Linked DNA regions of Homo sapiens: all the other regions are linked to region 3. The links are contacts of gene promoters, found by promoter capture Hi-C in blood cells and fetal thymus (Javierre and others, 2016). All regions are on one chromosome and are shown on one strand. Each heading gives the region's core, a stretch centred on a gene start or on the middle of the fragment in contact. The rest is flanking DNA. Distances are from core to core; before and after follow the strand shown. Region 1 overlaps CRIM1 (cysteine rich transmembrane BMP regulator 1). Region 2 has its middle 12 kb from the start of CRIM1-DT. Region 3 holds the start of VIT (vitrin).

The links. Contacts are between HindIII fragments. The CHiCAGO score rates a contact against its expected background, and 5 or more counts as called.
Region 1: a contact is called between a fragment that was not itself captured here and the fragment with the promoter of VIT in region 3, in 1 of 17 cell types (M1 macrophages). The highest score is 5.8, in M1 macrophages.
Region 2: a fragment that was not itself captured here is called in contact with the fragment with the promoter of VIT in region 3 in 2 of 17 cell types (M2 macrophages and endothelial precursors); the score reaches 7.0 in M2 macrophages.

The regions. Positions count from the first base shown.
Region 1 is chr2:36,363,807-36,366,506 of GRCh38, reverse strand. The region is part of intron 1 of CRIM1 (cysteine rich transmembrane BMP regulator 1); the gene reads right to left. Among named protein-coding and RNA genes, the nearest start is that of CRIM1, 9.4 kb to the right of the region's middle. The HindIII fragment of the contact is 6,469 bases long and covers 1-2,700 here.
Region 2 is chr2:36,341,994-36,344,693 of GRCh38, reverse strand. No RefSeq gene overlaps it. Among named protein-coding and RNA genes, the nearest start is that of CRIM1-DT, 12 kb to the left of the region's middle. The HindIII fragment of the contact is 699 bases long and covers 1,046-1,744 here.
Region 3 is chr2:36,695,429-36,698,128 of GRCh38, reverse strand. VIT (vitrin) reads right to left here and starts at 1,422. Exons shown (of 16, transcript NM_053276.4): 1 at 1,156-1,422. All of the region lies in intron 2 of LOC124905990 (a long non-coding RNA gene), which reads left to right. The HindIII fragment of the contact is 1,435 bases long and covers 1,066-2,500 here.

The sequences.
Region 1 (2,700 bases), core at 102-2,601, 330 kb after region 3:
AAATTTCCAAATAGCAAACTGTTCAAATTCTCTTCTCAGGAACTTGAAATACAAAATGGTAACACCCTACAATATAATTAACACTTATTTTTTTTTCTTAAATATTCAGAAGACAAATGTTCTCAGGATAGTCTGAATTAGGGTGTTATTTTGACATCTTTCTGATTTTGTTTGTAGGTTACATGTCCGAATACCAGCACTCTTGATAGAAGTGCTACAAATGAGAGGTACTAAAGTAGTTTCTGGAAGAAAATCCAATTTCTACTATGCGATAATACGGTTTGATCATCAGGAAGGAAAAAAAAAGTTGTAAACCACTGATTCCAAGGATTTTTCTCTTCATCAAGTTCTTTCTCCTTGTTCTACAATAGCCAATTTAAAGCATCTGCCTTATGAATTATCAGCCAATATTTACTGGATAAAAATGATACTTATTTTCAGGTACAAAGGAAAGAGTCACAGTTAAGCAAATGTAGTTCTGGGCTGGGCGCGGTGGCTCACGCCTGTAATCCCAGCACTTTGGGAGGCCAAGGTGGGCAGATCACGAGGTCGAGAGACCATCCTGGCCAACATGGTGAAACGTGGTCTCCACTAAAAATACACAAAGTAGTTGGGCGTGGTGGCACATGCCTGTAATCCCAGCTACTCAGGAGGCTGAGGCAGGAGAATCGCTTGAACCAGGGAGTCAGAGGTTGCAGTGAGCTGAGATCATGCCACTGCACTTCAGCCTGGCAACAGAGTGAGACTCTGTCTCAAAAAAAAAAAAAAAACACAAACATAGTTCATAGTTCTGTTCTCCTAAAATGGGACCATACCCACACTAAGAACTAAACAGCTAGTAACATTAGATATTTTGATTCTAGGTGTTCTTCCTACCCCGCACTATATCACAAAGACTCCCTAGAGACAGTGCAAACCCATGGCCAACCTCGACTATTAGTCCACATCAAAGATGGCTAGAATGACTGGGAGAGAGAAAAGCAACACAGATGGCCTCTGGCCCTCACACCCTCTCCTGCTCATTCCCAAGCCCGCAGTGGTCTCTGAATCGGCTAGGCTTGCCGCTGCTTCCTTCTGTAACCTCAGTGAGATATATCAACCTGGCCTGGCTATATCCTTGGGGTCTCCAACGTCTCCAGTGATGTCCAGAAATCCTCAAAAAGTTCTAACAATAAAAGGAAATTTAATTCACTGTCATAAAACCATATGCCATTAATATTAAAAGGCCATTTTTAAATAAATATTAATTTGAAATAGCTCTTTGGATGTAGGGGCTCAAACCACAAAATCAAGCAAGTGTTCACATTCTGCTGAAATGCCAAAGGCGCTGGGAACTGTAGTTGCACTGGATCAAACCAACGCATGTTTCCTTGGTGCATAGACCCTGTATTCCCAGCCCCCTGTTCTCGGTACTTCACGGTTCTTTTCTCTTTGACAAACATCTGACATTTGAATTCCCCCTCGAAACTCCCACCCCTTTGAAGAGATTTAGTTAAGTTTGGAGGAAATGTGTGCCCACAAGGTAAATTTTTAAACTTACAGAGAAAGCTAACAAAGAGGAAAATGGGAAAGGATAGAAAATAGAATGGAAATTAAAATTAATATTATTTTAAAAAATCTATTTGGTACCAGAAACTAGCATATACACATACATACTATACACACACACACACAATCTTATATATACATCTATGTAATCATATATATAAATCTCTAATCCTCACTACAATATTTACTTAATAGAAAGCTATTAATATTCCAGTTTCACAGATGAGGGAACTGAAGCTCAGAGAAACTAAACAAGCTGATCTCACGATTAAAAAAATAACAGATTTAAGATTTCAATGCAGGTTTGTCTAGCCCCAAGCCCTATTTTCTTTTTCCTAAAACATCCTGCACAAGAAGTGCAGGAAAAAAGGAGGGAGGAGAGGAGACCCTCAGGTCTTTCTTGTTGCTGCATCCTCCACTAAACTTTTCCTGGTGGTCAGATTTGGGTTAGACTCCCTCTTACTTGCTCCTGACATGCTTGGCATTTCCGTTATCTCATGGCTTACTGAACTGATTGTAATGAATTGTCTGCTTTTCCAGTTTACCATCAGATCATGGCCTGTGTGAAAACAAGGACCATATCTTATTTATTTTGGCTGAAAAATAATGACTATAATAGCAGGTAACATTTATCAGGTCTTTTAATATGCATACTCTGTGATACATGCTGTATACATAGGTACTAGCTTTGTGCTACTTAAAAGTGTGGTCCTGGCACCTGTGACACTGGCATCAGCCAGAAATTTGTTAGAAATGTAGAATCACAGGCATCACCCCAGACTAACTTAATCAGACTTGCAATTTTAAATACCTAGGTGATTTGTGTGCACACTAAAATTTCAGAAGCACAGTTTTATCTCACTTAACCCCCACAGCGAACCTAGGAGGTACCGACGACTAACAGAAAAACTGGCTTACACAAGTGATGTCACTACTGTAAAGCACAGAGACAAGACCCATAGGCGATGCTCATGAATATTTTCAGGCAGAAGAATGGCAGAAGAACAGGTAGAGCTAGAAAAAGAACAAGAGGAATGGATAATCCTCTGACTTCTGGTTTTGCCTAGTTTATACCAACTGCAGCAGCAGGTTGGAACCATAGCCCCCATGGCGTCGAGCTGTTTCTTTGCTCAAGCCAGGCCAAATCCTGCA
Region 2 (2,700 bases), core at 146-2,645, 350 kb after region 3:
GGGCATTTGGTGCCTACCTTACCTTTTCCTTCTCCCCTCCCCTCCCTTCTCCCCTCCCTCCCCTCCGCTCCCCTCTCCTTTCCTTTCCTTTTATCCTTCCTTTCATTCTTCCTTCCTTTCCTCTCTTCCGTATTCTTCCTTCCTTCCTTCCTTCCTTCCTTCCTTCCTTCCTTCCTTCCTTCCTTCCTTCCTTCCTTCCTCCCTCCCTCCCTCTCTCATTCCCTCCTTCCCTTCCCTTCCTTCCTTTTCTTTCCTCTCTTTCTCTCAACAGGGCTCAGGTGATCCTCCCACCTTAGCCCCCTGAGTAGCTGGTACTACAAGCATGTGCCGCCATGCCTGGCTAATTTTTCTATTTTTTTGTAGAGGTGGGGTTTCACCATGTTGACCAGGCTGGTCTCGAACTCCTGAGCTCAAGCAATCGGCCTACCTCAGCCTCCCAAAGTGCTGGGATTATAGGTGTGAGCCACTGCGCCCTGCCTAGTGCTTGAGTTTCTGATGGGCACCACCTGTCTTTCTGTGCACCAGACACTATCATCCTACCTTGAGGCACTTTGCCTGGTACCAGAGTAGCAGTCTCTAGAATACAGAACTCTGCCATAGTACTATTTTTTACCTTCATCTGATTTTGTATGTGGCATGCCAGGTGTAGCTCTATTGGATATTTACTTTTTTCTCTGTGCCCCAAATTCTGGCATCCTTAGTCAATATGAAAACCCCTTCTTTTCTCTAAGAAATAGTATGTGCCAGTAGGGTATGCAGGGCTGTGGTCCTTCTTATTGGTTGGGCCAACTTTTTTATTCACCGGGAATCCTTTCTAATTGACCTCATTGGTCAGGCATCCGTTCTGATTAATCAGTGCTCATGCATTTTAGTTCTTAAATATTTTTACTGTCTCCTCTGCTTCCTAGCAACCATTAATTGAGCACATGAAACTGACTGTATGCTAAATGCTTTGGATATCTCTTCTCTTTTAACTCTCATAGTAATCTCATCATAAGGTGTGACCAGACAGATTTTTACAGATGGGGAACTGTGAAAAAAAGCTTCACAGAAATTACATAAATATTCTGAGGACATAATGCATGCGCCTGGGTTAGGATTCAGATCTGGGACTCGGTGACTTCGTGCCTCACTGTGGCACGGTAGTGCTCTCAATCTAGAACCAACTCATTGTACACTGAATCTGGTCTGTTTATCGTATTCCACATTAGAACATCCTGCTAGGTTGTATGGTACTTCCATGTCCTTACTTGCTGCTTTGGGTGGTGGCCATTTACCTTATTCAGAACCATGAGTTCACCTAAGGCCTACTGACCAATAGAGCTTCTAGGTCTTTCCCATCTCCTTGTCTTCTTAAATGCTGAAATGGCCAGGGAAATGAGACAAACTGGCCTAAAGTGATAAATTGATTTCATCATTGTCCTGTTCCTCAGCTATCTAAAACCTGTCTAGGTGATGCAGATACTGCATTTGTCAGTGTCAGAACTGTGCAAATGCAATATATCCTTGTAACAAACCTGCACATGTACCCCCTGAATCTAAAATAAAAGTTGAAATTATAAAAAAAATAAAAATTTAAAAAAAGAACTGTGCAAAGATGTAAACATCTTTCTTCTTGTTACATTCTGAAAGCCACCAAAGGAGTAAAGGGAGAGTTCCTTTTGGTTTGTTTCTCATTATAAACTTTTTTTTTTAAGTTCCTAAAATAAAATTGTGGGAGTCTAAGCATATCATCAGGGAAGCTTATCTGCAAGTAGAGCAGTAAAACACTCATTTTAAAAGTGCCTTAGGGCCAGGCGCGGTGGCTCACGCCTGTAATCCCAGCACTTTGGGAGGCCGAGGCGGGCAGATCACGAGGTCAGGAGATCGAGACCATCCTGGCTAACACGGTGAAACCCCGTCTCTACTGAGAATACAAAAAATAAGCCGGGCAAGGTGGCGAGCGCCTGTAGTCCCAGCTGCTCGGGAGGCTGAGGCAAGAGAATGGCGTGAACCCCGGAGGCGGAGCTTGCAGTGAGCCGAGATCACGCCACTGCACTCCAGCCTGGGCGACAGCGAGACTCCGTCTCAAAAAAAAAAAAAAAAAAGGGCCTTAGGTTGGGTGCAGCGATTCACGCCTGTAATCCCAGCACTTTGGGAGGCTGAAGGGGGTGGATCACCTGAGGTCAGGAGTTCGAAACCAGCCTGGCCAACAAGGTGAAACCCTGTCTCTACTAAAAATACAAAATTAGCTGTGTGTGGTGGCACATGTCTGTAATCCCAACTACTCAGGAGGCTGAGGCAGGAGAATCACTTGAACCCGGGAGGTAGAGGTTGCAGTGAGATGAGATGGCACCATTGCACTCCAGCCTGGGCAACAAGAGCGAAACTCTGCCTCAAATAAATAAATAAATAAATAAACAAACAAACAAACAAACAAACAAAATAAAATAAAAAGAAAGAAAGTGCCTTAAAGTACACTTGGTGGTCTAAATGTGAACAGATCATGAATCTAAAATATTCCAATTTAATATTTACTGAGCACTTGAATTGCTCCCAACTCTTTTCTACATGCTTTATGTGCATCCTTTCATTTAATTCTCCAACAACTCTATGCAAGAGGGACTATTATTATCTTCATTTTAAAGATGTGGAAACTTAGGCACAGCGTAGTTAAATAATATGTCTTAGATAACCTAGATTATATGTGGGAGGCTCAGG
Region 3 (2,700 bases), core at 173-2,672:
CTTTGTCTAAAGCTTTTTGTACAAAAGAGGGTATTTTAATTCAATAAATAAAAGATGGGCACTTCCAGCTCTCCTACCAGCACTAGCTACCACTTGCAGCTAACACACATAGAGAGAAAATACACAAACAAACAGTGTTTGATCCTGCTTTGCTGCAGGGTGTTTTCATCTTTCAAGAGACCAAGGGAAAAACAACCTCAGAACTTTACCACCAAAACTTCCAAATTTATTGCAACACAACGTAACGGCAAAATACTATTTTCTTAGCACACGCAATTTTGAGCAACCACCACGGCCAAGAATGCTTGTTTTTATTTTTACAATAAGTCCAAAGAAAATTTTTAATTCCACTCTTGATTTAGGAATGGCAAAGATGCTGTGGGTTGTTTGGAGAAAACTGTCATGTCTAATTATTCAGTCTTATCCTCTCTCTTTAACCTGTGCTTGAGGCGTTTATTTCATGTTTATACTAGTTGGACACAAATCATACTTAAAAGAGATTTCATATCCTGTCTTCCTGTGAAAAGCTGAGCTACGATGGCAGACTTAACAATGCCAGCCCCTTGTTGGGCTTATCAGTAACAGAAGCATTCAGCCTAAGAAAACACTTTAAGTGTAAACAAGACACAGAATCGCACATCTAGCCACATTCCACTGAAATCTGTCTGAATAGAGAGAAGTAGAGATCCACACGAAATAGTTTCTCTTTTAAGTTAGCACCAATGTGCCCATTTCTCATACTGCCATTCACAATCTTTATAAGCAATTTGCTATATTGCTATTACATTCCACATATTCCAAGCAAAGTTTTTAAAAAAGCAAGATAATAGAGACTTAAATTACTTTAAAATTCTACACAAATGTCATACTTTTCAACTTATTTGTAACCATAATTAAATTGGTTTAAAGGAACAGTAAAAATCTTGTTATAATATTAATATCAATGCAGTTTATTTATAATTGATAAATATATATGTATATTACTAGTTGTTTACAAGGATGCCAAGTACCATCCACTTTCATCTCAACTCTCTTGAAACTGAAATTTGCTTACTCGGTCAAGCTTTGTATTGTAGTTTCTTAAAGACAAATACGTTTCAATGATAATGAATGGAAAGTAACTATATACACAGCTTAGAAATTCATCAGACATACCTTGTTTGAAGAAGGCAATTTTTTTTTCAAAAAATTTTCACCACACAGAATGAATATTCTTTTTCCCTTAGGCTTTCCTGCATCACAAATCCCATCCAAATTATTCTAAGGAAGAAACAGGGAGAGGTCCAAGAACCTTTTCTCTTCTTCTCAGAGGAGCTAATCGAACAGTCCCATCAACCTCTCAGTACTTTGAAAAACACATTTTACACCCCCCCCCACACACATACACACACACACATGCTCACACATACTGCTTCTCACACTGGTTTTAGTGCTGAATTAGGCGGTCCTCTTTCAAATTTCCACTCCCACTGCTTTTTTTTTTTTTTTTTTTTGTAAGGATTTCTAAATATTCTTTTGTAGCCCAAAGCACAAACTTTCAGTAAGCAAATTCTACAATTTGACATTCTAAAAAGTAGAGGAGGACCACTTAGATAAAAATGGAAAGTAAAAGATATGTTTTAAAAATTACTTCAGCAGGGGCAATTCAATTTTTTCTTTCTTTTTCAAAAGCTAGTGAACAGCTGGACTGAACTGCACAAAGAAGGAAAACTGTGCAAACACTCTCAAACTTATTCTACTGGACTCCCACTTTTGAATTGAAAATATGTACTTTTTCCTACATATTAATGCTATTTTTTTGTTTTGTTTTGCTTCAGTCCTTTCTGCGTTTTGGCAAGTTTTATGAAATGACTCAATTATATGCTGGTAGTTACAGGACACAAGATAATCATAGTGGGAAGCAAAACCTGACTCATGTTTCAAAAAAAATACTGATGAATAATCTCACATGAAATCTGCCAGTTTTAGTTATTTATATATTAGTGTCATCAATGAAATCTAAGAGATTCAGATTCAAAATGTGTATTAACGTATCACATCATTAAAAAAAAATCAGACCAAAAAAAAGTACATCTGGCAGATCTTGAGATTCCAGTGTCCATCAGTGTGGCAGAGCATCTGTTTTCAAGCACAGGAGAAGGTAGCAAAGAGTCATTCCTCCTCCTGCTGGGGAGTGTGCACTCACGCAGCTAGGGAGGAGAACCTTCTTCCATTCGAGAAGCCTCCTGTCCTCATCTGTTGGCCCTGGAACTGCTCCTTATTTAAGATAATTGTTTGACAGATCTTGTGCTCTAATGCCAAGTTATACATGGGATGATTGCTGGCACGTCTTCATTGGCTATATAAAATGTGGCCGAGAAGATAGGCTCTCACGGTAAGAAGTCTGTGTTGATTAGGAGTAACTTTGGCCCAGCTCTCTGGTCTAAAGCTCTCAAATGTGACTATGTGAATCTGGGTGGGATTCATCTGCTCAATGCCATTGTGCAGAGATGCATAAGCTTTTTAATGCTATAAAACATGGTAGCTGAAATTAAATGCCACTTTTTCAGAGGTGAATTAATGAAGAGCCTGATGAAATTCAAAGCTTTTTGATGTATAAAACTTGATAAATGGAATGATTCCATCAATAGGCGAAGTGTAGCAAGCTATCTAGATGGATAGTATGTAATTTCTGCACAGGTCACTGTTAAATAAATACAT